Linked DNA regions of Homo sapiens: all the other regions are linked to region 5. The links are contacts of gene promoters, found by promoter capture Hi-C in blood cells and fetal thymus (Javierre and others, 2016). All regions are on one chromosome and are shown on one strand. The core of a region is centred on a gene start or on the middle of the fragment in contact, and the rest is flanking DNA. Distances in the headings are between cores, read along the strand shown.

Region 1 (5,127 bases), core at 2,499-4,998, 620 kb before region 5:
TTCATGGATGAAGAAAGCTGGGAGGGATGAAAGGTGGGCGCAGTGGCTGCCTTTTAGCTCTTAGACTCACTAAGCACTTTCCCTCCTTGGGGCCTTTGAACCTGTGGTTCTCATTGCCTAAAATCCTCTCCTTCCCACTCTTCACACTGCTGATTGCTCCCCTCCCTCAGGGCTCAGCTGAAATCACATCTCTTCACAGCAGCCGTTCCTTCCCCATCACTCCATCCAAAGCAAGTCTCCCCGAAACTGTCCATCTCAGCACCCCATTTGTTTCTTTTATGGCAATGATCATACATGGTCATTATTACATTTAGTTTCTTACTTACTTTTGCTTTTTGCTTCTTTATTTCATTTGGCGAGGGGTTGGCGAACTATGGCCTACGGGGCCAATCTGATCCCACTCCCTGTTTTTGTAAATAAAGTTTTACTGGAATGCAGTCACTCATGCTTATTTCTTTTCTTTTCGAAATGGAGTCTCACTCACTGTTTGGCCAGGCTGGAGTGCAATGGTGCAATCCTGGCCTACTGCAACCTCCATCTCCTGGGTTCAAGCAATTCTCCTGCCTCAGCCTCCTGAGTAGCTGGGATTACAGGCATGCACCATCACACCCAGCTGATTTTTGTATTTTTAGTAGAGACAAGGTTTCTCCACGTTGGCCAGGCTGGTCTTGAACTCCTGACTTCAAGCATTCTGCCTGCCTTGGCCTCCCAAAGTGCTGGGATTACAGGCATGAGGCACTGTGCCTAACCTCATGCTCATTTCTTTACAGAGTGTCTATGGCTGCTTTCACCACACAAGGCAAAGGTGAGTGGTTGTGACAGGGACTATTCTAAGCCTAAAATATTTACTATCTGCTGTGTTACAGAAAAAGATCAGTGACCCCTGGATTAGACTGTCAACTCTACGAGGGCAGAGACTAAGCCTTGCTTGTCTAGCAGTGTGTTAGGTACCTGATTCAGAGTCTGGACCATCATAGGCGTCTGATAGGCAGTTGCTGCGAGACAAACCCTTGCAAATGCCAGGTTGGAACTTGTCGAATCAATGACCAAGAGGCTGACCTTCATCTTCAAACCTCAGGCTCTCTTTTGTTGGCTTTATATAAGGCTTGCCTTACATTTAGTTTAAGTAAAAACCAGGAAAATATGTTTCAGTTTCCTACCATAGTGCCTTAAGCAAAATAAAAGGCAGAGTTTTAAGGGAGGAGGGAACCCCTCCAACTGGATTTTAAAAGACCTACTGAGCAATAAATATCAACGATTATGATTTATGAGGCCACGAGGAGTTGTCCCTAGTTATAATAGCAAGCTCAAAGAAGGCAGCCCAAATGGACAGAAATGCAGGGGGCTACATAAAAGCAAATAAAATAAAATAATTTACTAGTTTGATTTTCCTCCAAGCAGGCAAACACTTCCTGCTGATAAATGGTGAGCATTTGTGCAAGTCTTAATAAAGCATTTGGGAAAACACTTCTGTAGCACAATCAAGATTTTTTAAAAAGTCACCCAGTCATGGGAAAATATTAGGAACGATTTAACTGGACATAGTGATGGAATACTTTGAAAATTATAATTTGATCAGAGACATCCAATGTGGATTTATGTGAGGGAGAGTTTAATACCTAACCTGTTGGAAGTAAGTTTCCTGGATGAATTACTACCATGGGAGATAAGAGAGAGGCAGATATTTACATGCACTTCAAGAAAGCCTGGGGCATAGTTTTACGTATTATTGGCCAACAAAACATACAAAGAGAGATTAGGAGCCTATGAAACACATAGTGCCAAAGCCCAAACTCATTTCATTTTTCAAGCTGGACAAAAGGTAAGAAGTCAGGTGGATTGAGTGAAACTTACTGCGTATAAATAAAGCACAAACTGAGAAAATGTAAAATAATCCAGTTAAACACAGTCAACCTTTCAGCCTTCGGGTCACCTAATAGAATTTGTTTTGAATCTTTCGGCCCAAATGTTATAACTGAGGCAAAGATATAACATAAGCCAGGATGAGCATCAAAGAAATTGCAGTCAATCTCAGTTGTTAGTAGGTGAACCCTCTGGAGATAAGCAAAGGGACCCCTTTGCCATAAGGCATGCCTGCTCTGTATCATCTGCACACATTGCAAAATACATTTCCTGATGCCCACTAGGGCCCTTAATACATTTCCAGTGAAGAAGGCTCTAAAAGATAGTAGGTATGGTTGATGTGTCCAAAAGCAGTCTGCAGGTCACAACCAGGACCAGAACCAAGACTAGGGAGACGTGTCTGAGACTCACCCAGGGCACATCTCTAAGGAAGCACTCACATCCCTGAAAGAGAGAGGGCCTCCTTAAATGGTGCACCCTGGGCACCTTGCTTGTCTCAGCACAGTCTATGCTGTATGTGGGACTTTGTTCATCTCAGAACAATTGAGCTCACCTGGGTCACTCTCAAAGGGTAGAAATGATCTCCTTCATTTAGGGTACTGTACTATGAAAGAGAAAACTCCTATGATTATAAATATCTATTGGAAGAAAAAATGGTTAGAACTTAAGATATAAGCCTATTCTCCTAGCATTTGAGAGATAAACATGTTGTTTAGGCGACTTTGCTCACTTCAACAAGGAAAGATACTCACTTTAAGTGGATCTAAAACAGAAAGATGGGTTTTGAAATCATAATAGCTAAGGAGCAAACGTTCAGGCTTTGATGGGACCTTTGCTCTTGTTACTCTCAAATATGAACTTGAGAAAGTTATAAAATACTAAATTACTTTGCCCATATAGCCCCAAAATACATCTTTGTGGTTTTCATTGCATTTTGACCAATATTAAGTTAGTTTAGGAAAATATGAGTTCTGCCTACTCACACATGGGTCTCTTCTGGTGTATCTTTTGCTCATCCAAAATGAACTTCATGCCAACAGCACTTTGACATACCAGTGTAGCAAACTGCTATTATGCACCTACCCTAAGTACAGACAGAATTCTTCTCTATCGCTTATCAGCAATGACACCTAAAAGTTTACTGTCTCTCCGAGGGCAAACTTTCCACTTGATTCTGAGTTGGTGCTTCTGGTTTCTAGGTAAATAGCTCAACAATCCCAGTTAGGATGTACTGTGAGGTGTCAACCTCTCCAATTGTGAACTCATGCCAGCGCACGCTCTCTCTCTCTGTACTTCATCCTACCCTGTTTAGTGGGAGAAACAAGATCTGCTTTCTAAGCCACAAGATGGCAAGACCTCAGAGCTGAGTATCTCAACAAGGAAAAATAAGCAACAGCGTGTGGTTCTCTTACCTAAGCAGGCCAAAGCTTAGGCAGTCATAATGTGCAGAAGTGCCTGAAGAGATGCTATATTGATTATGAGATACGATTGTGAATTTTATTACCTTCCGGGAAAAAATAGGCAACATAAAAGCAAGAGTTTTGTGCCAGATGTAAGAATTAAACTCTACAGTTATCTGATTAGCATTAGAGACATGTGCTTTGAATGTGAAACACTTGTAAGTCTCCCCAGGTGAGCTCTCGATCTTATCTGTGCCATGTATGTAGATTTTTATATGCCTGCTCTTCTCAAATGGGACCCAGATGAAGTTCAATCATTTGCCTAGAAGAGTCTGAGAGGTTCGCTGGATTTTTTTTTTTTTTTAATTTTAGAAGCCAGCATGATTTTTTATAAGAGAAAGGCAAAGCTTTGGGACTTTGCTTGGAATTGAAGGGGCAGCCTGGGTCAGGGCACCAGGAGGTATGAGACTGAAAGAGAACTAAAGGGATCCATCCCAGTGCTGCCTCTTGGTATGCTACCATGGGACTGCCCTCCTTGTCTTTACAATGTCAGCTCTGGGGACAAAAGCTTCTTCTTGAGTCTACATATTACACCTGGTGGTGAGAGAATCTCCTAGTCACTGCCCTCACACATATCTTAAATGCATCCTCCAAAATGTTGCTTGATTCTGCAAAACCTATTTCTGGGCACTCTAAATATCCCCCATGCCTACTCCTCTTCTGTCTGGAGAGTTGCAAGAGAGATGCAAGTCAGAGTTAGGTCATGGTGTTCCTTCCAGCCTCTCCAACTTTAACAGCATCTACCATTTTGTTAAATGATGATCCCCCATGAACGTGAGGACAGAAAGAGACAGGTGCTCTCATGCATTTCTGGAAGGAATATAAACCGGTAATGTCTTTCAGTTGAGCAATTTGGCAATATATTTCAAAAGCTCTTAACGTGCACATAACTTTTTATTTAAGAGCTTTACTCCTAAGGAAATAATATGACAAAGCCCCCCAAAAATATATGTACAAGGATGTTCCCTGGAGCACTTTGGATGATGGAAAAAATTGAAAACCACCTAAATTTCCCAACTGTAGGAGCTAGTTGTCATGGCCCACCTACTACAATGGAAGAACAATAGCCATTAAAAAGGATGTTATTTATGAATTTGGAAAAATGCTCTGTATATATTTTTAAAGTGAGAAGGTAGGTTTCCAAAGAGTACATATAGTATAATCCAATGCTATAAATGTGTGTGTGCATGTGTATATAAGAGAGACACACACTGGGGTAAAATTGCACCAAAATATTGCTAGTGATTATTTCTAGGTGAACAATCATGAGTTTAAATTATTTTTCTTTTTTGGCTTCTCTGTCTCATGTAACTTCTCTACAGTAAATATATAACACTTGCGTCATAATTTTTCTAAGCTGCCTTGCATTCCTCTGGCACTGCCATCTCAAATCTTTTTTTTTTTTTTTTTTTTGAGACGGAGTCTCGCTCTGTCGCCCAGGCTGGAGTGCAGTGGCGGGATCTCGGCTCACTGCAAGCTCCGCCTCCCGGGTTCACGCCATTCTCCTGCCTCAGCCTCCCAAGTAGCTGGGACTACAGGCGCCCGCCACTACGCCCGGCTAATCTTTTTGTATTTTTAGTAGAGACGGGGTTTCACCGTTTTAGCCGGGATGGTCTCGATCTCCTGACCTCGTGATCCGCCCGCCTCGGCCTCCCAAAGTGCTGGGATTACAGGCGTGAGCCACCGCGCCCGGCCCATCTCAAATCTTTGAGGGATTTTTCATTCCTTTCATTGCACCTGTCCCTCTACAATCACAATATCTGGTGTGGTCAGCCTTCATCTGCAGGAAGAATAAAGCCTCGGG
Region 2 (5,738 bases), core at 436-2,935, 580 kb before region 5:
AACCTGGGAGGCAGAGGTTGCAGTGAGCTGAGATCACACCACTGCACTCCAGCCTGGGTGACAAAAGCAAAACTCCATCTCAAAAAAAAAAAAAAAAAAAAAAAAAGATTTGTAAAGGATATTAACGTAATCTTTTCTGAAATGGAAAGTTCAGTTGCATCAACGCTTAAGCCTACAATGAAGAATTACTCAAAGAGAAGAACAATAAAAAACTCACAGAAAGTGTTCAATAACCTAAAAACAATAATCTTATGTAAAACAAAAATTTTACATAAGAACTCATAACAAAAACTTAAGGGTGTTAGAAGTCAGAGCATGACGTTAATAATATGATACAGAGTTGAACGTGATAGATCTGGTCAGTATCAAACTCACTGAAGAATGGTCAGAAATTACCTTCACACAAACAGCAACAGAAAGAAAGATACACGGCTGACAGTTATTAGAGCTCTGAGCATACAGTAAGCATCTGATAAATACTGATGGGCTGGCTATTCAATTACAACTGACCCGACAACCTATTCTTGAAGCATTATTTAATTTATACTAGATGTTCTTTTTTGGGGTTTTCAGTTCTAAAATCTCTCTCAAATAACTTTTCCTGCCAAGCGGTTATTTGAGTTGCGTCGGAAAGCTTTCTTAGTGAATTCTGCACTGAATGGCTCCCCTGGAAGAAGTTTATTACTTTGTCATCTTATTTGTTAGGAAAGTTGTGATATGACAGAGGGACATAAATAATCCCATTCAATGGGAAAAAGATGCTTTCTGCAAATCCATAGTACTTTTCACATTTCAAACCACTTTCACATTTATCCAAGTGCTTTGCTATTTTTATAAATGAGCATCTGATGAGGATGAAATGAAAAAAAATTCTCAGCCAACCCTTTCAGCCCTTTCTGAGGAAACTTCTCACTTCCAGCTCATCGCCACTGTCCGTATTTTGAACCTGTCTTGTCTGCCTTATCCTGAGAAAAATGAAAAGTTCTCAAACCACCCCCACATATTAATTTGCCATCAACTTTTCCTACTAAGTACTTAAAATTCACTTTCTGCTTGAAATGAAGGGAGAGGCACCTATCTTTTGAGTTCGGCTTGAACAATAAAAATATTTAGAATAAAAAAACACCAAATAATGACAAGAAGTACAGGCACATAGGCGGGTCACGTCTTTTTTTTCCCTCCTTAAGTGTTACAATGGAACATTTTGACTTGTTATGAGAGTGGGAATGAGAAAGTGAAATAGACTAGAAACAGACCAATTTCATTTTTCTGTCAGCATCTCATGACAGGCCAAAGATAAACCTCATAAACTGTGAAAAATGAACAATTCTTGGTTTTGATAACCTAAGCTGGGATGAGAACCAAGGAATTAATATCTCTGGAACCCAGGAGTTTATCTCCCTTGTTTTTCAGTGATTAATCTCAAACTAATCCCATTTTTGTCAACAATTTAAACAAGCCAAAAGAAAAGTTTTAGACTCCTGGCTATAGCTCCTCTCTTAGCCTACCCTTCCTGGTGCCAAGTGAAGTGGTAATTAACCAAAGTCTCCCTCCTTTTTTTTTCCCCTTGACATACAGAATTGCAGGGCAGCAGTACTCCAGAGAAGGGAGACATTGGTGGGAACTGCAAACGGTAGGTTTTTAGAGTAGGGAGAGGAGGGGACTCAAAAGAGGAATAGGGAGCATGGGGGTATGAAGGTAATTATAGGAAAAAGCAATGTGGCTGGTGTGGTGGTTCACTCCTGTAATCACAGCACTTTGAGAGGCCGAGGCAGGCAGATCACCTGAGGTCAGGAGTTCGGGAACAGCCTGGTGAACATGGTGAAACCCCATTTCTACTAAAAATAAAAATAAATTAAAAATTAATCAGGCATGGTGGTGTGTGCTTGTACTTCCGGCTACTAGGGAGGCTAAGGCAGAAGAATCACTTGAACTGGGAGGTGGAGGTTGCAGTGAGCCAGGATGCACTCCACTGCACTCCAGCCTGAGCAACAGAACGAGACTCTGTCTCAAAAAAAAAAAAAAAAAAAAAAAAAAAAAAAAAGAAAAAAAGAAAAAGCAATGGGGCATCAATGAGTACAGATGGGGCAGATGGGGAGATTTGGAGCAGACAATGAAAAGAATGGTCTGGGAAGTGAAGAGTTTCAGAACTAGGAAATAGTGGAGATGACATCAGGTGGGAGGATGGACTTGCAAACCCAGTTAGAGAGTGTGGACAGAATGTGATGGCCACAGGGAGCCATTGTGTAGTCTAGAGCAGGAAAGTCACGTGGAGTGAGTGAGTATGGGAATGGCAATGGTGTGCAGGCAACCAGTGGAAGAGACTAGAAACAGGGGCTCTAATGTAGAAACATCTCAGTATTTGGGACAAGAGGGGATGAGGACTACATTTTTCCGTGTTTTTCTTCCTTGATCAAAGTATTTCCCTAACTTTAGCAGTCTCTTCTCACTATTAGCTAATTTTGCCATAGAGGCACAAAACTTGTACTACTGTTTACTTGTTTTACCTTATCCATTAATGACTCTTATTTAAACATCTGTTTTATCCTCACCTTGATCTGCAATGTCTGTGAAATTACAAACTTGGTATATTAGTTACATATAGGTTTTAACTGTATGAAAACAAGTATATGCCTAGTAAAAGAAGAAGTTTGTCTGAATCTTACTTAAAATCATCTCAAACTACCAGTGGGGCACTTATTCTTTGGGGGAAGGCTGCCTTCGCTCACAGGTTCTTAAGCTTACTGGGGTCATAGATTCCTTTGTTTACCTACTAAATCCATTAGAAAGGATTTGCAAATGGCACTCATGATATTACCAGTATGTATCTACATATGTATGCAGTAAAATCTAGTCCTTTTTTCCTAGAATACTCAGTGTGTCTGAGCACGCACAAACAAACTTTGCATATCATTTCAAGTTGTCACTATTCCTTGGATTAAAACTCTTTTGACCCATCTGAGGCTTGCAGAATATGGGCCCTAGCTTCTGGGCAGACCAGGGCACTCAGTACATCTTCCCAAAGCTCATGTGGCCTTGAAGTCCTACTGAGTGTCTGCAGTACCCTCTGTGGGAGTCTGACCCTGCTCAGCTTCTAGAATGTCCTGTGGTGAATTCCATTGCTAACGTCTCCTCCGATACCCTAGTTCTTTTCAGAGGCTCCTACCAGAAAATTGACACGAGGAAACTCTATGGCATTGGTCTGCAGGGGCCAGAGTGGCCGTGAACACAGATGTGAACACAGACGTGAACACAGGCTCAGGGCAGAAGCTGAAGGAGTGGGCTGTGTATTTGTGCCTAGTCTCCCAGACTTTTCTGAGAGAAGAGTTTCGTCTCACCCATGGCCTGCAATTGCCCTGTCAAATCAATTTGGGAGACTATAAAGATATAAGAGCTGAACAGCACCAACAGGGGACTCTCTTTTTTTCCTTAAGGCTTCTTGCCAGATATAACAAGAATAAATATGAAATGGCTTCATATTCCAAGCATGAACTAATGTTGGGGTTGTGGCTGATAAGTAAGGAACAGCTAAACAGGCTTTGACATGGTGGCTCTGGAGGGGGCAGCGTTCTCGCTGGAAGTGGGGATGTGGGGATTTATCAGGCCTGTTGTGGAGTGAGCTGTCTGGAAGAGGTTCCTCTTCCATAAAAAACCCAGGCCCCTGCTGACTGATTCTCACGTTAGGAAAACATTGGTAAATCATCAGCATAATCCAAGAATTATTCCCTTCCTCTACTCTGCGCATGAAGGCCCTTCTTTTCTTATCTGTTTTTAATTTTCTTCATGGGTGCTGTTCCTAGTCCATTAATTGAAAGGACTTTTGGCTAGAAGCCCACGACTGTTTTGGGAAAAAAAAAACACACACACCAAAAAACAGAACAACACGAAACCCGAAGGGCTGATATTCTGTGCATCTCAGAGAAATAAAAGTGGATGGGAATGGCTCCTTCGGGAGTCCCTGCTGGGTTCGGTTCTGCCATGCCCAGAGGCACAGGTAGGGGGAACTGGCTGCCTGGACATCTTCCCCCAGCTGGGCTGCCAGGGTAAATCACTGGCTTTCAGAATGTCCTCTGGAGAAAATAAGGTCATTACAAGGCTTTTAAGATCAACCATAATAAACTCCCTCCAATTTGTTTTTCTTCAGCTGCTTTTACTGAGCCCTCTGGGCCTTCCTCCAAGCGCTGAGTATGATACTGCTCAGCGTGATGCAGAGAGGAGAGAAGGGGCTTTGGACTCAGCTCAACAGACCTGAGTGAAAATTCTGCCTCTGCGTCTCCCTAGCTACGTAGCTTTGGGACTACAGGTAACCCCTCTGCTATGAACTGCATGTCTGTGTCCAACTAAAATTCATGTTTGAAAGCCTAACCACCAAGACGATGGTATTTGGAGGTGGAGCCTTTGGGAAGGAATTAGGTATAGATGAGGTCATGAAGATGGAATCTTCATGATGGATGAATTCCCTTATAGGAAGGGTCCAGAGAGCTTGTTTTCTCTAGGCCATGTGACGATACAGCTAGAAGGCAGCTGCATGCCAGGAAGAAGGCCCTCCCCAGAATCTGATCATGCTGGCACCCTGACCTTGAACCTCCTAGTCTCCAGAACTGTGAAAAATAAGTGTCTGCTGTCTAGGCCACCCAGTTTATGGTACAGGCGCACGTTGTTTTATTGAGCTTTCTTCTTTTTTACAAATTGAGGGTTTGTGGCAACCTGCATCAAGCAAGTCTATTGGTGTCATGTTTTCCAACAGCAGGAATACTTCGTGTTTCTGTGTCCGTATTTTTAAGCAATAAAGTATTTTTTATTAAGTTATGCAGATTGTTTTTAAAACATAATGCTGTTACAAAATAGACTATGGAACAGTGTAAGCATAACTTTTATATGAACTGGGAAACTAAAAAATTTGTGTAATTCACTTTATTGCGATACTCACTTTGTTTGCAGTGGTCTGAAATGGAACCCATAATATCCCCCAGGTAGGCCTATATTCTGTGACAGTAGCCTGAGCTGACTACAACAGCCTCTGAGCTTCAGTTTTTGTAAAACAGAGAATCTAACGTCCGCATTATGGAGTGGCTACAAACACTTGAGAGATGATGCATGTAACATGTATAGGAGAGTTCCTGGCCCATGGCAAGGTGAACGGTAAACATTATAACCAGTGTGGTTGCTATGATCATCAGCAACACCACCAGCATCTTCCCTGATGACCTGGGCCAAGGTTGAATGAGAATGGAGACAATACATTCAACTCAGTTTAACACCATTTGGAAAGGATTTGCAAATGACACTCATGATATTACCAGTATGTATATCCCTACTTTCATCTTTCAGCTACATAATCAGGATATAGCAAAGGACACAGCTGTAATATTCATTCATTCGACAAATATTTACTATGTTCCAGACACTTTATACTAGAGTTTCAGGTACAGCAGCAAGCAGGGCAGACATCATACTTGCCTTGCTGGTGAGTACTTGTGCCTTTGGCACTCTGCGCCTTTGGAGCTCTGGGGGAAACGCAGCGCAAAAGGCTTCAAAGGCAACCTATGTTATTGCTCAAGGTTGGTGTTGCAAACAAACAGCAGTGCATAGAAGTCAGCAGGGCCATAGGAACTTCAAGTTTATACTTTCCCCAAAATGCCCATAGAAAATTCAACAGGTATTTGCTGTCGAATCTTCAACAGGCAATTCCTCAGTGCCAGGCACTGTGCTAGGCCCTTGTCCTTGTGGTGGACAAG
Region 3 (5,843 bases), core at 551-3,050, 930 kb before region 5:
CAGCTCTCACTCAATGTGCTGTCTTTCATTCAAGGGTTGGATCCCCTCCCTTTCTGCCTTCTTTTGGTTGCTGCAGAGTGCTTTAACGCAATTGTTTTGTTAAACTATTTTGTCCAGATTAGATAATTGTTACATGTGGGAGGGCTAGTTTGATAAGCTATTCTGATATTACCAGATCCTGAACCTCTTGCTCAATTTTCACCCTAGAATCTCAACACCACTGAATGTGAGAGGAACCAATGATAAGAGCCCTAAGCAAAACTCACCAGGGTTAATCGGAAAGAGGTAGAATGATATAATGGTTAAGGATGGGGCTTTGGAGGCAATTTTGGTTTTGAATCCCAGTCCTGCCACTTATCAGCTGTGTGATCTTAAGAATGATGCTTAACTGATTGAGACCTTGTATTGCCATTTGCCATTTTCTTTTTCTTTTCTTTTCTTTCTTTCTTTTTTCTTTTTTTTTTTTTGATGAGGATTAAATGAAATGCTTAGCACCAGACTTGGCAAATAGTAAGGGTTTTTAACCCACGATGGTCACTATTATGACTAGAGAATGATATGTTCTTTCACAGTGGGGCTAGAAGGAGAGGGACACAGGGCTAAAGGATTTTTCCAGACAGTAGATTGGTGCCTTCTATTGGGACTAGAAGTCTTTGCCTCCAACTCTAGACATTCACAGTTGTTTGGAAATAAGCAAAATTCTAAATCTCAGAATTTTCTTCTGTTCCAGTTAAGACTTATCAAGGGCTGGAGCGTCTGAACTAGATACACCAAAAATTTTTAGAGTGATGAGATGATGGAGTTAAACAAACTGTCCTGAACTGCATATCCAAAGACAAAAGCTAGGAGATAACAAAAACTGTCCTAAAACTGCATATCCAAAGACAAACTGTCCTGAACTGCATATCCAAAGACAAACTGTCCTGAACTGCATATCCAAAGACAAAAGCTAGCGTACCCCCAAACCCTACTTCAATGTAGACTCCCTCCCTCCCTGAGACCTCTGACCAAACCCAAATATATCTTGATTTTTTTTTTTTCAGACAGGGTCTCACTCTGTTGCCCAGGCTAGAGTATAGTGGTGAGATCACAGCTCACTGCAACCTCGACCTCCCCAGGCTTAGGTGATCCTCCCACCTCAGCCTCCCCAGTAGCTGGGACCACAGGCATGCACCACCATGCCTGGCTAATTTTTGTATTTTTTTGTGGAGATGAGGTTTTGCCATATTGCCCAGGCTGGTTTCCAACTCCTGGGCTCAAGCAATCCACCTGCCTTGGCCTCCTAAAGTGTTGAGATTACAGGTGTTGAGCCTCTGTGCCTGGCCTGGATTTTTTTTAAGGAGGTAAAATTCACATAGTAATTCACCATTTTTACAAGTATAAAGTGTGTAACTCAGTAACTTCCAGGACATTCATGATGTACAACTATCACTACTAGTTCCAGAACAGTTTCATCATCCCCAAAAATAAATGCCAGACCCATTAGTCACCCCCATTTCTACTTCCTCCTAGTCCCTGGCAACCACCAGTGTGCTTTGTGTCTCAATGGATTTGCCTACTGTGGACATATCATATAAATGGATATGTGGCTTTTTGTGTTTGGTTTCCTTCACTTAGCATGTTTTCAAGGTTTGTTCATTGCCTGGAATTATTCAGATATTCATTTTTATATAAACCCCTGTGTCTTTTTGACTTTCCAAGTGCACTTCGTCCCAGCAGGGCTTTCCTATCCGGACCCCAGAGCTTTGGTGAAATGTGTGCACACAGAGCAGGCAGGGGCACATTGACAAACTTCTGCTTGACAGTTTCTGTTTTTGCACCCTGTTAACAATGCTCTTGAGGCTCCACTATGTAGGATTATCTGTTTTTATACCTGAAAGTCTCCTTACCTCAACTGCTATCAAAAGATTTACATCTTTCTAAGGTGCCAATTAAATCCAACAAGGTAGCTGAGTGTGGTGGTGCACGCCTGTAGTCCTAGCTATGCAGGAGGCTGAGGTGGGAGGATCACTTGAGCCTGGGAGGTCGAGGCTGCTGTGAGCTGTGATTGCACCGCTGCATTCCAGCCTGGGAGACAGAGCAAGATCCTGACACACACACACACACACACACACACACACACACACACACACACATTCCAACAAGGTAATGTGTAGGAGGAAGTACCCGAGCTTTTCAGTCAAATGTATATTTGAATTCCACTTCAGAGACTCATACAGGTTTGGAAAATTGGAGAGAGGAGGAGAACTGTGCCTGCTTTGCAGGTGGAACCTGGGAAAGGGGCACATACACGAATCTCTTCCTGTGCCACAAGATGGCACAAAAGAAGTAGGGGTGAAATAGCTGCTCCATCCCGGGTCTGAGTCAGCCTTGAAGGGTTCCCAATACCCTGGGTAACGTGGGAGCAGTAGAATGATTTTTCTGTGCGTCTAAGAGTAGCAAACAAGTGGGTGAACAACCTCAGCTCTACCTCATTTCTTTCTTTTCTTTTTTTTTTTTTGAGATGGAGTTTTGCTCTTGTTGCCCAGGCTGGAGTGCAAGGGCGTGATCTTGGCTCACTGCAACCTCTGCCTCCCAGGTTCAAGTGATTCTCCTGCTTCAGCCTCCTGAGTAGCTAGAATACAGGTGCCCACCACCACGCCCAGCTCATTTTTGTATTTTTGATAGAGACAGGGTTTCACCATGTTGGCCAGGCTGGTCTCCAGCTCCTGACCTCAGGTGATCCACCCACCTCGGCCTCCCAAAGTGCTGGGATTACAGGTGTGAGGCACCGTGCCTGGCCTCCACCTCATTTCTTGTAGTGCCAGTATGGCATAGCAGCCTCCAGGTGTCCCCAGACTTCCAGGGGGAGCAGAGTCATGACATATAGACTCTGCAGACCTGGAAAAGATTTGCTGCAGAGTTAAAGCAAACGTAGTCTAGATGTCCAGGCCATCGTGGCAGCTGGCATGAATACATGAAGACAGCAAGGAGCAAACATCTTCACAGGATGTGAGGCACCTGGAACTCAAGGGGTATCCTGGAGAAGAGAAATGCCAGACACTGAACTGAATGAGATAATTAAGTTTTTGCTATGAAGCAGGATGGGGGCTCAAAGTAGGAATTAAGTTTAATTTAGAAAAGGCAATGTATATTTTTAGTATTTTTGAGTAAGAAGGCTGAGAAGCCTAAATTTAAAAAAAATAAATTTTTTCCCCCACTGTAATTCACGACACTTGAGTTCATTTTCTGCTCCTGAAATAGGGAGGGCACCTCCCTCTGAAAACATTGTCAGAGAAAAGAGTCCAGGATTGAGCAGATGCTTTGAAGAGGCAGAACATTCTTAGCTTTAGGGGGCCCACCAGCTGGCCCAGGGCACAATTCCTCAGCCACAGTGCCTAGGGAAACTGCTCTAGGCATTCGGCCTGAGGCATTGGGTTGGAAAGCAAGGGGTTAATTTAGTATTAGCTGTGTTCTGTTCCAGAACATCTCTGTAGCTCTTGCTCCTGAGCTCCAGGGCTTCCTTCCTCATCCTACTCCACCCCCTCTTTTTTCCTTCCCTCTTTCTGTTTTTTTTGAGGTGAAGTTCGCATACCATAAAATTAACCATTTTAAAGCATATCATTCAGTGTCAGTACCTTCCCAATGTCGTGCAACCATTACTTCTATCTAGCTCCGAAACATTTTTATCACCCTCAAAGGAGACTCTGTACCCATGAGGTAGTCACTCCCAGTTCCGTCTCCCCCAGCCCCTGGCAGCCACCGATATGCATTTACCTAAACGGTATATTTCCTGTAAATGGAGTCACAAGATGTGGCCTTGGTGCCTGGCTTCTCTCTTCATCCCTTTTGCATCCTTCAGTCCTATCTCTTCTCCCTGAAGCTTTGGAGCCCACCCAAGTAGTCCCTAGGTATTTCCAGACTCCATTTTCCAGGAATTAGGCCAGAGAAAGAAAGAAAATAAGGTCAGAGGGCTTGGCGGTGGGAATTAAATCGGCTTAGGGAAAAAGAAACCCAGCAGTTTCTGATCAGGCCCCAGCAGCTGAATTTGGTTAGGAGGCCAATTATCTGAGGCCCACGAGCTTTTAAGTACCATGGCTGGGCCTTCTGTGGCAGGCCACGTGGAAGCCGGGCTCGCCCTGGCTCTTGACTGGAAACAGATGCTGTATGCCCAGGAAGGAAAGCTGAGTTTCGAAAAAATGCAGCTCGACTGAGACTGTGGTGTGGCTGGATTTTCACAAAGCAGTATTTATAATCAGGCAGAAAATCGTGGAGAAACAGCTAAGGATCAAGTTGCCACTTAAATTCCTAACAGCTACACCTGGCCATGAGAACTGGTGAGGTTTCGGAGACACACATCATAAAGTGTGGGCCAGGTTGGGTGCTTCTCTGATTAATATCATGGCAGGGTTTTGGAACTGTAAGTAGGGGAAATTGTAGGGGGAGGAAACTGGAGGTGGGGGCTTCTCTCAAACTGTGTGTTTGGTTACAGAGATGGCTGGCAAGACACTGCTGGCTCTCTGATCTTTCTGGCTTCGATAATTTTTCTGTGGTGCTAACACCTACCCCCTTCAGTTCCCCAGGAGGGAGAAATATGGGTTGAAGTTATAGAACATATTTTGGGCAGGCTCCCTCTGGACTTTGTTCATGCAGGATGGTCTTATTATTTTGATCTATGAAGGTTTGTCCAGTGGTGCGTGGTCTCTGAAAATCACACCATGCACCTGCCTCTCCTCTAATATTGTTTATGCACATTAAATTGTATAAAACTGTATGACCTTGGTTGGGCAAGTCACTTAAATTTTCAAGGCCTCAGCTTCCTCAAATGAGGACATTAGGTTCTGTAGTGGGTTGCATAGTGTCTCTCCCAAAATTCCTGTCCACTTACAACCTTAGAATGTGAGCTTATTTGGAAATAAGGTCTTTGCAAATGTAATTAAGGTAAAGGAATATGAGATGAGATTGTGCTAGATTAGGCCGAATCCTAAATCCAGTGAAAGTATCCTTATGAGATAGAAAAGGACACACAGACACACAGGGAAGAAGGTCCTGTGAAGGCGAGGTAGGCAGAGATGACAGCAATGCATCCACAAGCTAAGAATGCCAAGCATGGCCGGCAGCCGTCGGAAGAGAAGGTAGGAGGGAGGAATGAACGGTTTCCCTCTCTCAGCCTCCAGAAGGAACCAACCCTGCTGGCACCTTGACTTTTGGATCTCTGGCCTCCTGAACTGTGAGATAATAGATTTCTGTTGTTTTATGCCAGTTTGTGGTACTTTGTTATGGTAGCCCTGAGAAAGGAATACAGATTAGATACTGTTTCTAGGATTAATCCATTCCTCTATGGCACTTAGAGTTTTTACAAAATATATTTACTACATAAATTTATCCCTTATAAAAAATTTATTTATTTATTTTTTGAGATGGAGTTTCGCTCTTGTTGCCTAGGCTGGCGTGCAGTGGTGTGATCTTGGCTCACTGCAACCTCCACCTCGTGGGTTCAAGCGATTCTCCTGCCTCAGCCTCCCAAGTAGCTGGGATTACAGGTATGCACCACCACACCCAGGTAATTTTGTATTTTTAGTAGATACAGGGTTTCACCATGTTGGCCAGGCTGGTTTCCAACTCTTGACCTCAGGTGATCCACCTGCCTCAGCCTCCCAGAGTGCTGGGATTACAGGCGTGAGCCACCACGCCCGGCCATAAAAATTTATTTCTTATAAAAAGTTCTTGCCAGCAACTTTTCTGGGGCATAGGTACATTTTATCAGGCCACCTTCCCTCCCTCCTCCTCCTTTTTATTTTTCAGATGCTCAGAGTGACATATCTAGTGACACAGCAAGTCAGTGGCAGCCCCAGGACTCCATT
Region 4 (5,663 bases), core at 707-3,206, 890 kb before region 5:
GGAGAGTAACCGCATGCTGTCCTTGGTTCCAGGACATCTGGAGTCTCTGGATTTAGCTGAGAAATCAGTCAGGCCCAGACTGATTCACAGCCCCACCCCTTTATATGTGTGCATGGAGGTGGCTTATGCCACCTCAGTGAGCCTCATAAAATGTGAATGAGTTTCTACGTTCTAAGATTGTTGGATGTTGGATAATACACCTTGCCTGACAAAGAATAAGTTAGCAGTACATGCTAGTCATTGTGATCTTTCTTTTGGCTATTGTATTATGGACAGGTAGTATCTGCCCTTCATTGAGACCTCATTGAGGGAGAGGGAACGTACAAGGAGAACTCCAAGGATAAACATCTTCACACTTGGACAAACGTCACCCTGACTGTGTATCTCTTTGGCTAATATCCCTACAGGCTGCCATAGGATATGAGCTGTTTGGTGATGGGAGATGAAGGAGATAAAATGATAAAATGTTGCACTGGAAGAATAATTTTTGATTTAAACACATTTTAATGAAACACTAACATTGAGCTGGCCTGTAGACCTTTTCAAGATAATGACATCACATATAAATACAATATCTCAAGATTATGAAAGCTAGACTGATTTTATTCTTTCCTATATTGTCTTAGAACTCAAGGAACTTTAGTTACAATAGAGGTTTCTAGGAATAAGTTCTGGGGATCATAAAAACCTGGCAGTGTTAGCTCTCCAGCACTCCAACCAACCCCACACCTGCACCCTTGACCACGTTTTTGTTTTCTTTCTTTTTTTTTTTTTTTTTAGACAGAGTCTCCCTCTGTCACCCAGGCTGGAATGCAGTGGTGCAATCTCAGCTCACTGCAACCTCCGCCTCCTGGGTTCAAGCGATTCTCCTGCCTCAGCCTCCTGAGTAGCTGGGATTGCAGGAGTGTGCCCACACCTGGCTAATTTTTGTATTTTCAGTAGAGACGGGGTTTCACCATGTTGGCCAGGGTGGCCCCTAGACCACTTCTGACCAGTGCTGGTGTAAGCCTGTGTCCTCTGAGCTTGCTGTCCACTCAGCCAAGAGGCAATTTATCTCCTCTCCATGGGCAGATCCCCATTCCCTGCCCCTTCCCGGGCATGCCCAGAGCACTCTGCTTGCCTGGCCTGCTCTGCTTTGAGTTCACGTTTGCATTTACATGTCTCTTCCCACCCCTTGCCCCTTCATTCTTCCCTGTCCCCTCACAGTATCCCATACTTCGTAAAGATCAGCAGTGAACTGAAGTCAAATCAGGGGGGTGGAAGTAGGCGGGGAGGTCCTGTGAGGTATCTCTCACCCTTGTACTCAGGTAACTTGACTGCCTAAAAGTCCCACCTGGCATATCTGAGGGGGCATGGGGCAGATGAGGTAGATAGGAATGGGGTAGACACATGGAAGGGCTGAAGCTTCATTTGGTCTCATTGAGCAACCAGAGCCTCTTGGCATTTCCCCTGGTGATGAGATCTAGGCTTGTGATGTGAAAATAGAAAAGGAAGACACGATAAAAGACATGCTCATGTCTGCTTGTCACCCTTACTTACTTGCTTCTTCTTCCCCCAGTGGAGCCGTCCTTCCTTCTCTCAACCCATCCAAATTCCACCCACCCTCAAGGGTCACCCACATTCTATTCCTAAAGGGGTGGGGCTGCTTCTCTCCTCCAGCAGCCTTTTCCTTCCTCAGAACCCCAGCAACAGAGCCAGAATCGTGGGGCCTAGAACTTCTTTCTTTTCTAAATATTTGCTCAGTGTCAAATCTTCTTCCCCTAGGTCCATGGCAAGGGCCTTGAGGAGATGAATCAAAACCATCTTCCAATCCCCACTATACTCCACACAATCAAGATCTGTGGACTGATGGGTGGGCTGGCTGGAGCAACAACTAGAACTCCTGCTTCTTAGATTCTAAGATTCTAAGAGCTTACAAGTTCAAGTTTCAGAGATTCTATGATTCTAAATTTCTAAGATTCTGTGATTGGGCTTTCTGAGATCTTGGGGTTCCCTGAAGTCCTAAGTCTTGTTGTTTAGAATCATAGTCACAAATACCCCCAGAGTCTAACTCTCTGCCCTGTGACTGAGAACAGGACAGATTCTGGGTGATGACAGCTTCTGGACCCATCAAGACCTAGAGCATGAGCTTCTGGCCCCAGAGGCTGGAGATGCCACTGGTGGGCATTCTCCTTAAAGACTCATCAGCACAGGCATGGAGCTCTGGGCCCAGGGCCCTCATCTCTAGGGGAGGCTCTGTAAGGTCATTTATGGGGTCTGCTAACATCCTGGGGTCTCTCCAGTTGCCCCGGACTGCCTGTTTCCCAAAACCCTGACTCCTTGGTGCTAGTGGCTTTCCTCTGGTGTTGGACAGAGATTGCTGGGAGAAGAAGGAGGCAGCTGGGTGTAGAAGGCAGCACTGGGGTTGGGAAGAATGTTTTTGGCCACAGAGTTCTGGGATCTCCCTCTCGATGTCAGAAAACCCCCAGTCTCAAGGGTCTCACAATCTTCTCTAGAAGAGGCAGTGGCAAAAGCTTTCATGAAGGAAGGTGAAAGGAAGAGATGAGTACAGGGCCTGGGAGGGATTTCCCAGGAGTGCCATTGGATCCTCAGCCTCAAGAGCTGCATGGCTTTCTGACCTGAGGCAGCCTCTCCATCCACCCTTAGGGCTGCTCACGTGCTCCCCTGGCTCCTATGGGCTCTGCTGCTCACCATGGAGACAGCTCCGCCAATGGCCATGCTGCTGGACCACAGTGCTCCTGCCCCCTTCCCCTGCAACAGGTGCATAAGCTGAAAAACTTGCTGTAGACTGGAGGGGCAGCGTACTGCAAAGGCTGCACATGGAGAAGGTGACCAAATACCCTTTAGACGCTGCTTCCCCAGTGGAATTGCTCTACTTCTTTAGCTCTAGAAAGGAGGGATATGCTGAGAGTACTGGGAAGTTGGTAGGAGAGGAGAGGCAAGGAAGAAGGGGCAGGGAAGAGAAAGAGTGGATCTTTCTCTCTCTCTGTCTCTTTCTCTCTCCCTACCTACCTGTCTATCTACAGAGACTTAGAGACACCCACAGACAGACAGAGGCACGCATAGGGAAACAGACTGAGATAATTAGATCATGGCTGAATCAGAGATGCAGAGAAGCACATGAGAGAGAGAGAGAGCATGCAGAGAGACCAGAGACTGCCTAAAACCTAGACTGTTAGAGGCAGAGTTTTCATGGACTCTGTGCTGGGGGCACGAAGCCAGGTCTTACCTGAATCCTTTGTCCAGGGGGATGCACTTGGCCTCATGCTGACAGAGGTTCAGCTCAGGCACACAGTGGTCAATCACCTCGTCGCATAGCTCACCTGGCACAGATGGGGGAGATAGCTCAGGCCTCAGGCAGGGTAGGGATGCCCTGGCCAGAAGATCAGAGTACTAGGGGGGATATCCTGGCCAGAAGATCAGACTCATCCAGCCCCTGGTCAGGTGGGCATGGACGTCAGGAGTCCTGTGTTCTCACTCCTTGTGTATCCTCCTGCACCTCTGCCTTGGTTTCTTTGGCAGTGACCACGGGAAGATTCCAGGTGTCCTCCTGGACACTGTCCTAGCATCACCATTTGGCTGTTTTACTTGATCTTTCAGGGGCAGGGGCAGGTGCAGCTGAGAGCACAGGATGCCTGGCCCTCACTTTGGGCCATGCTTATTCATTTGTTTTTTCATTCCACACTTATTTACTGAGCACCTCCTGTGTGGCAGGTACTGTGCCAGGCACTGGGGACACAACAGTGACTGGGTCCTTTCCTACCCACAGCCTATTTGGGAAGATCTACAAATAAGCAGGCAATTACAATACAGACTTGTAGGTGTGACCAGAAGGGCAAACTTTGTGGAAGCACAAGGGGGACCCATAACCTCCCCCAGGAGGTCAGAGGAGGCTTCAGAGACACAGACAAGGCTTAGCAGCCCAGTTCACCTGTTACAGAAAAGTAAGCCCCTTGGATTTTTCAGGGAAGGAAGTATGAAAGGAATTTGAAGTTCTGGTCTCTAGACACATTGCCTTTGAAGTCTGCAGTGCTACAAAATACCTAACGGTCATAAACACCCAGGGATGGCCCTTGCAGATAAGCCCTGAAAAGCTTACACCACCTGAAAATGTGTTTTAGGAATGTGGGGGAGGGCGGTAAGGCAGGACAGCAGCTCCCAAGCAACACCAGCTTTTAAGATCCGAGTTTTGGGTTTCCTCAAATTCCACTAGGTCAAGCCAGATGGAGAGTGATCTAAGAGAGGGAAAGGTCTAACCATGAACGTTCTCTCCAGGAATGGGGTGGGAGCAGGGCGGGGAAAGCTGCCTTAGCTCCTGCTCCCAGGGTATAGGCAGGTAGGTCCAGAGGGCTGGCTGCAGGGTAATGAGTAACAGATAGCCCCTAAGTCTGTTCTTTGCTATGGTGGGGAGAGGCTGACCCCAACCATGTCCTGGGAGGGAGCACTGAACCCCTCCCTCTCCAAATTTTGCCTTCAGCCTCTCAAGACCACAGAAGGCACTATGTTCCTGAGAAGCCTCCTCTTTCTTGTCATCTGGAGACACCCAGAGAAGCAGACAAGTATCTGTGTGGGACTTGCACATTTTCTGGGACAGAGCAAACCACAAAGCCTCATTCTGTACCTGAGTTTCCCGGGAATGAATTCTAGTTGACACTTCCTAGCTGCTTGACCTTGACTTTGGCAGTTGTGGAGATTAAATGAGATTATACAAGCACTCACTCTCAGGACCAAAGTGCAACAAATCAGCAGTGCACCCTGGTCAACGGCAGACACCAGGTAGGCCTCAACTGCGGCAGGAAACCACTTCATCAATGCCTCCTCAGTACCCTCCTGCTGCCCATCTGCCTGCTCTAAATTCAGTTCAAGCCCCTCCCCTGCCACAAAGCCTTTGTTAGAGCCCCACTGCCCTCTCCATTTTCACTACTGGGATTTCTGTCATCTCTCTTCTGGCACTAAGCTGATTCTTCTTGACCAATGACTCAACTCTATACAGTGATTCTTTTCATGGACCAGAAGCCCTTGTGGGCTGAGGGCATACCTTAGATTTCTTGGTCTCTCTAAGTGGCTAATTTAGTAGTCTGTATACAGTAGGTGCACAGTAAGTGTTGCCTGTTGCTAATGCAACTCTTGGCTACAATTCCGCTCTCAGAAGATGAAAGAGGGAAGGGGAGGTAACCCCTCAGCAGTCAGTCAGTCAGTCTTTCTCTCTCTCTCTGTCTCTCTCTCTTTCTTTATCTCTCTCTCTTTCTTTCTTTTTTTGAGACAGAGTTTTGTTCTGTCTCCCAGGCAGGAGTGCAGTGGCAGGATCTCAGCTCACTGCAACCTTCACCTCCTGGGTTCAAGTGATTCTCCTGCCTCAGCTTCCTGAGTAGCTAGGATTACAGGTGCCCACCACCATGCCCAGCTAATTTTTGTATTTTTAGTAGAGCTGGGGTTTTGCCATGTTGGCCAGGCTGGTCTCGAACTCCTGATCTCAGGTGATCTGCCTGCCTTGGCCTCTCAAAGTGCTGGGATTACAGGCGTGAGCCACTGCATCCGCCCCCACAGCAGATTTCCATGCACTTTCTCCCAGCACAGAAGCTTGTCTGGGGTCCTAGGAAGCCCAGGATTATTAGAGCAAGTGGTTTTCTCAGTTGGTGGTGGTACGTTCCTACAGTTTCAAG
Region 5 (5,589 bases), core at 1,878-4,377:
AATGTCTACTATATTGGGATGGTGCACTCTTTCTCTGAGAGAAGATTCCCCCTATTTAAAGAAAAAATAGTATAGCTATTAGGCTCATTCAGAGTTCAAGCTGATGCTATACATTGTTGATACAGGAGAGATCGCAGACTGGGTTTCATTATCATTATTACTATTAAACAGTCAAACCCACCTGCCTGGTACAATGATTCATTCTGATATCTAATTATCACAGTGGAAGTTGTGACAATTCAATTTCCTGATCTCTTCTCATATGGCTCCTGTTTTTCTTGTTGGATCCTTATTCTCCTCCTGTGCCATGGATTAGGACAATCCCAAAAGTCCTGCACACACCCCTCCGTTCTCTCTCAAAGCTTTTTTTCTTCATCTCGGCCATCCCCCAAGTTTCAGTGACCACAACCTTGAGTGTAACTTTCGTAACTTCATATTCCAGCCCATCCTATAAATCACAGCACTCTACAGCTTAATCTCATTCTTATTTGCAGACTCTGTGTCTCAGAGTCCTGAGCTTGTTTTTGCTTGATCCCAGCGATGACTAGCTTGCAGCTCTACTTAATAACATGAAGGAACAAGAAAGTCTAAGTCATCCTCTAAGTAAGGATTTACTGTTTATTGTTTGGTAAATGTCTCTTCCACTAAACTCTAAGTTCGTTTAATACAGAGACTATTCATTTGTAATGCCCAAAACAAATGATCATTCAATAAGTTCCTGTCAAAATATATGCAGCTTTCAATATAACGTAACAGTCTAATCCTCTCGTTTCGTCTAGAACAGTCACAATGAAGAAATGATGACAAGTTCACTACAGGAGTCTATCCCAGTTCTGAACAGCTATAATATTAGGAATTGTAACTGAGGGCCACAGAGTTGGGAGGTGGGTGTTGTTTCCCAGAATCTGAACTCCCATCCTATGCTTGGTGAATCCACTACTGTGTGAGGAGGCCAAGTCCCATCTCTCCTTACGTAAATGGAAAATAACAGATACAAGGTTGCTGTTTTTTGCTTTTTCCTGACCTTTGGTATTTAGGCCATGGTATGCGGACCTTGCCTGAGTACGGAGATCTGCATCTGGTATTGTGAATCAGAAGTTCCATTAAGTTATCTTAAAAGTAGAACCCATCTAGAATTCATTTCACTTGTGACATCTAGCGTCCAGTGGTGGTATTGGCAGTCCTGTATTCAGGCCATCCCTAAAGAATGACCTTTATTATGACATGGGGTAACCTCTAAGACTTTCCTAATGCTGTCCCCTCCCCTAGAATGCACCCCTCCTTAGCTCTGCCATCCTTCAAGGCCCTGCTTGAAGTGTCACATGCACTGGGAAGTTTTAAAGGAACATTTAGACAAAATATACCTCTCCCTTCACACAACTCCTTTAGTGTGGGGCACATACCACTTGCATAGCATTTACAGCCCTGTAAGTTCTATTTGTTTTTTAAAATCTCCTACTATATTGCGAGCATCTTCTAGGCAATAGTCGAGTTTACCACATCTCTGAATTCCTCCACTATGCCTAACACATTGCAGTCACTCAATTAATAGTTTAAAATACATATTTTTAAAATAGAATAGGAAGAAACATTAATAACATAGGGTATACCTTCTCTTGTAACAAAGGAGAAAAAATAAGTTCAGATCGATTTTAGATTACCTAATTGCAGCCAGTCATGATTGGCCTAAGCTAGAACAATCTTTTCCTGGCCCCTGAGTTAAGGAATCTTTGTTCAGTGATAGGGAAAATGGTATTTGTTTCATTTCTCCAAGAACATAGGTGTGATTACAAATGAATGAGCATCTGGTTCATTGGAGTCCCAGATAAATCTGTGAGACAACACTGTGAGCAATTTGTTGCCAATCTTAAAGCTCAGATCAACCCTTTGAGTCTGGCTTAGCTCAGGCAGAAATTGTAGTCTGCAAAAGAAACTGAGAAGAAGAGGGCAAGGAGAGTGTGGCATCCCAAGACATAAAGACTCAAATCAATGAGAGCAAGCAACTCTGTCAAATTTCACCAGAAGTGAGGACTAAATATTGACTACCGAATTTTGCAAGGTAGGAATCACTGGTAAACCTAACAAGAGCCACTTCATAGTATTGGTTGGGACCAAATCCTGGTTAAAGTGGGAAAAACAAACAAAAGAACAAAAGGTAAGAAAATGGAGATAATGGATGTAAAGATTTTTTTTCCCCAGAAATTTTGTTATAAAGAGAAGAAAACAAATGGGGTGGTTGCCGATTGGTGTCAAGGAGGATTTTTTAAAAAATGAAATCATGAAATGATTTTATGGCAATCACTGCAGCATGTTTATGAACTGATAGGGAAGATCCAATAGAGAAGAAAAAACTGAAGATGCAAAAAAGAGCAGTTAGAGCCAAGTTCTCAAATAGGCAAGAAAAGATGGGCTCGAAAGAACGACATGATTCATGTAACAGTTACTAGGACTCATCAGTGCTCATTAAATGTTATCTATTATTATTTCTGATCGCTTCAATTTTTGAATAGGCATCAGGGTTACAAAATATTATTATTAAAAACACATGCAAACAGCTTGGACTCTAAGACTGCATTCAATTCTAGTTCTACCACTTGGACAAGGCACTTTTTTTCTTCGGGCTTTTTCTCTGTAGAAAACGAGGAGTAATATCTGCCTCATAAGGCTGCGGGCTTAACTGAGATAATCTGTAAACTTTAACACATGGTGGGAACTTAAATATTAACGCCAGTATTACCACTGGTAGGGTGCATGAGATCGCACGATGGTGCCAAAGGTGTCTCTCCACCGCCCAGCCCAGCGACACTGTTCCCCTAGAAGGCATTGTCGTAAAAACAAAAAAAAAAAAAAAACGAACAAACAAAACACCAAAACACGGAAACTAAAAGCAAATACTTAAAAGACATGCAGGAAACCAGCCCAAGGAAAAATTTATGTGGAGCCACGTCTGCGCCTGCGCCTGCGCCAAGCCCACGGCGCGCCACTTGCACATGCGCAGTAGCTGTAGGAGGGGGTGGGCGCTCCATTGGGCGTTTCTCTTGGTTTTTCCTTTCCGCGCGGCTTGGGCGGACGTCTCGTGAGACGTGGGACTTCTCGCGGGAACTGCATTCAAATATCCCAGGCGCTTACTCGAGAGCTAGCTGAGCGAATGGGCCGGCGACTGTGGAGTTAGCGTCCTCAATGTGGACGCCCTGAGCTCCCATTAGGAGCCGCTGGCTGCGGCAGCAGGGGACTAGCGTGAGAGGTAGGGGCAAGGGGCCTGGTGGGAGGTGGGTGTGGAGAGCGGCAGTGGGGAGAGTCGAACAGGCCCTAAAGAAAGCTAGGGGCCGGGGTCTCGGCCGAGGCCTTTAGCTGAAACATCTCCTTCCCCGGAACCCTGGGGTCTTATACACTGGGTTCCGAGCCGGTCTTATCTTCCGCTGGACCACCTCGCCGCCCTCAGGGATTCTGGACAAATATGGAACGTTGGGTCGGTTGCCGGGTCCTCAAAATTATAACCGCCACTGGATCTGCGCTGTGCGGTACGGTAGCCTCTAGCCCGAACTAAGAAATGGTGCAGATGGGAGATACATATTGGGTTTCAGAGATAGCGCATAAGGAGTAATATCTCATTAATAATTTTTATAATGATTACATGTTGAAATGATGTTTTGAGTGTATTTGTTTAAATATGTAAATTAATTTTTCATCTTTGTTTACTTTTTAAATCATGATGGCTCCTAGAACATTTAAAATCACGTACATGACTCGCGTTATATTTCTGCTGGACAGCACTGCCCCAGCCGTGTGTCAGATTCTACCCTAATTGCTTTTCATTCGTTATCTCATTTAATCCTTTCAGTAACCGATTAGGTGGGTGTTATTGTGCTTGTTTTTATAGATGATTAAACCAGAAATTAAATAACTTGTCCAAGTTCATGCAGCCAGTGAGTAGTGGAGGCGGGGTAAGAACTCAGGCAGTTTGATTCCCAGAGTTTCCTGTGTCCCAAATGCTTTGTGTGTGCTATATTTTTGAGAAGCAGGACAGGAAAAATGGTTGCAGCACCATGGTTTCTAGGTAGATTCTAGTTCCCATCACACTTCGCGTCTTAACTTGCGGGTAACCCTAAGCAAGTTACTTAAAACTTTCTATGCCTCAGCTTGCATGTGTAAAATGAGGGAAATACCTTCAACCTCTTGAAGTTGTTGAGAAGATTGAATAAGAATGTGTATAAAGCGGCCGGGTGCGGTGGCTCACGCCTGTAATCCCAGCTACTCGGGAGGCTGAGGCAGGAGAATGGCGTGAACCCGGGAAGCGGAGCTTGCAGTGAGCCGAGATTGCGCCACTGCAGTCCGCAGTCTGGCCTGGGCGACAGAGCGAGACTCCGTCTCAAAAAAAAAAAAAAGAATGTGTATAAAGCACCAAGCACAATGTCTGTCACACATTAGTAGTTTTTAATCAACCACGGCTATCTCTCTTTGTAGATTGATAGGTTAACTCTTTCTCATCCATTAGACCTCTGCTGAAAAGTTACTTCCTCAGGAAAATTTTTTTGTCCATGTTCCCTTCTACGCGCTGCCCCCCAGATTAGGACAGCTCCCCCTTGTTACAGGCTCAGGTAGCATACATCTGTCTCTCTTGCACTTATCATACTTGTAACTTGATAGTTCAATTACTTGATTTAATGTCTTTTACTAATAGACTAGGATTCAAGAAGACAGGAATATTGTTTTAGGTTGCCATTGTGTTGTCAACACTAGCACAATGTCTCACACAATAAGAATTCCAGCAAATTTTTTGAATAAACTAAAGCAAATTTTTTTTGGCTTCTCTGGATATGCCTGGCTGGAATGTCTTGAGGTTAACCCTATTTTTATTTTGGTAGTTGAGATGACAGTATTTACTTAACTCAAGCTCATCAAGATAATTAGATGAGATAATATATTTGAAGCAGTTAGCATGGCAAATGGTAAATCCTCAACGAATGTAAGTTATTGTGAACAGTACAACATTTAGTTGGCTGGCCGTATCATGTACAGGCTTTGAAAAGGTCTTGCATTTTAGAGCAGTGACTGCCAAGCTGGGATTACCTAGAACACCTTTTTTTCTCTCTTAAACCCTGTATCTCTTCCCTTGTCTTCATTCTCAGTTAAAGACCTTGCTTCCTAATTCATTGATAAATTGAAGCAGTTAAAAGGTTACTTACACAGACTTCCACCACTGTACCTGCTTATCAGCATCTAAACTCATATACTTTGCTTAAATGAAATATCCATGCTTCTATTAAAACCAGTCTCTACATTAAACTTCATCCTGTTTATTCAGGGACATCACTAGCAATTCTCCAGTGTCTTCTAGATCATCAGTTTTTCTTCTCTCCTGGATTTATCCCATGACCTACAAACACTGTTATTTTTTTCCATCTTAAAAATAAAAAAACTTGTCCCTACTTCCTCTCCAACTGCTGCTCCGTTTATCCGTTATCCTTTGCAGCAAACCTGTGCTTGCTATCTTTATCTCCTACCATTCTCTCTTGAAGGCATTCTAGTTAGGCTTTCACCCCCACCTGGATATCAAAACTGTTCTTGTCACCAGAGACCTCCAGGAAT

What was found. The method cuts DNA at HindIII sites, captures the fragments that hold promoters and counts their contacts. A CHiCAGO score of 5 or more calls a contact.
Region 1: a contact is called between a fragment that was not itself captured here and the fragment with the promoter of SPDL1 in region 5, in 2 of 17 cell types (M0 macrophages and endothelial precursors). The highest score is 7.3, in M0 macrophages.
Region 2: a contact is called between a fragment that was not itself captured here and the fragment with the promoter of SPDL1 in region 5, in 4 of 17 cell types (erythroblasts, megakaryocytes, endothelial precursors and 1 more). The highest score is 6.0, in erythroblasts.
Region 3: a contact is called between a fragment that was not itself captured here and the fragment with the promoter of SPDL1 in region 5, in 2 of 17 cell types (M0 macrophages and M2 macrophages). The highest score is 6.0, in M0 macrophages.
Region 4: a contact is called between a fragment that was not itself captured here and the fragment with the promoter of SPDL1 in region 5, in 5 of 17 cell types (M2 macrophages, M0 macrophages, naive CD4 T cells and 2 more). The highest score is 8.2, in M2 macrophages.

The regions. Positions count from the first base shown.
Region 1 is chr5:168,962,722-168,967,848 of GRCh38, forward strand. All of the region lies in intron 4 of SLIT3 (slit guidance ligand 3), which reads right to left. Among named protein-coding and RNA genes, the nearest start is that of SLIT3-AS1, 48 kb to the right of the region's middle. The HindIII fragment of the contact is 161 bases long and covers 3,669-3,829 here.
Region 2 is chr5:169,000,312-169,006,049 of GRCh38, forward strand. The region is part of intron 4 of SLIT3 (slit guidance ligand 3); the gene reads right to left. Among named protein-coding and RNA genes, the nearest start is that of SLIT3-AS1, 10 kb to the right of the region's middle. The HindIII fragment of the contact is 2,106 bases long and covers 633-2,738 here.
Region 3 is chr5:168,650,357-168,656,199 of GRCh38, forward strand. No RefSeq gene overlaps it. Among named protein-coding and RNA genes, the nearest start is that of SLIT3-AS2, 54 kb to the right of the region's middle. The HindIII fragment of the contact is 4,120 bases long and covers 1-3,860 here.
Region 4 is chr5:168,689,378-168,695,040 of GRCh38, forward strand. SLIT3 (slit guidance ligand 3) reads right to left here. Exons shown (of 36, transcript NM_003062.4): 29 at 3,230-3,323. Among named protein-coding and RNA genes, the nearest start is that of SLIT3-AS2, 15 kb to the right of the region's middle. The HindIII fragment of the contact is 1,109 bases long and covers 1,403-2,511 here.
Region 5 is chr5:169,580,646-169,586,234 of GRCh38, forward strand. It overlaps SPDL1 (spindle apparatus coiled-coil protein 1), which reads left to right and starts at 3,128. Exons shown (of 12, transcript NM_017785.5): 1 at 3,128-3,244. It overlaps LOC105377714 (a long non-coding RNA gene), which reads right to left and starts at 3,016. Exons shown (of 3, transcript XR_941200.3): 1 at 2,738-3,016. RefSeq lists an enhancer at 2,755-3,755. The HindIII fragment of the contact is 7,098 bases long and covers 361-5,589 here.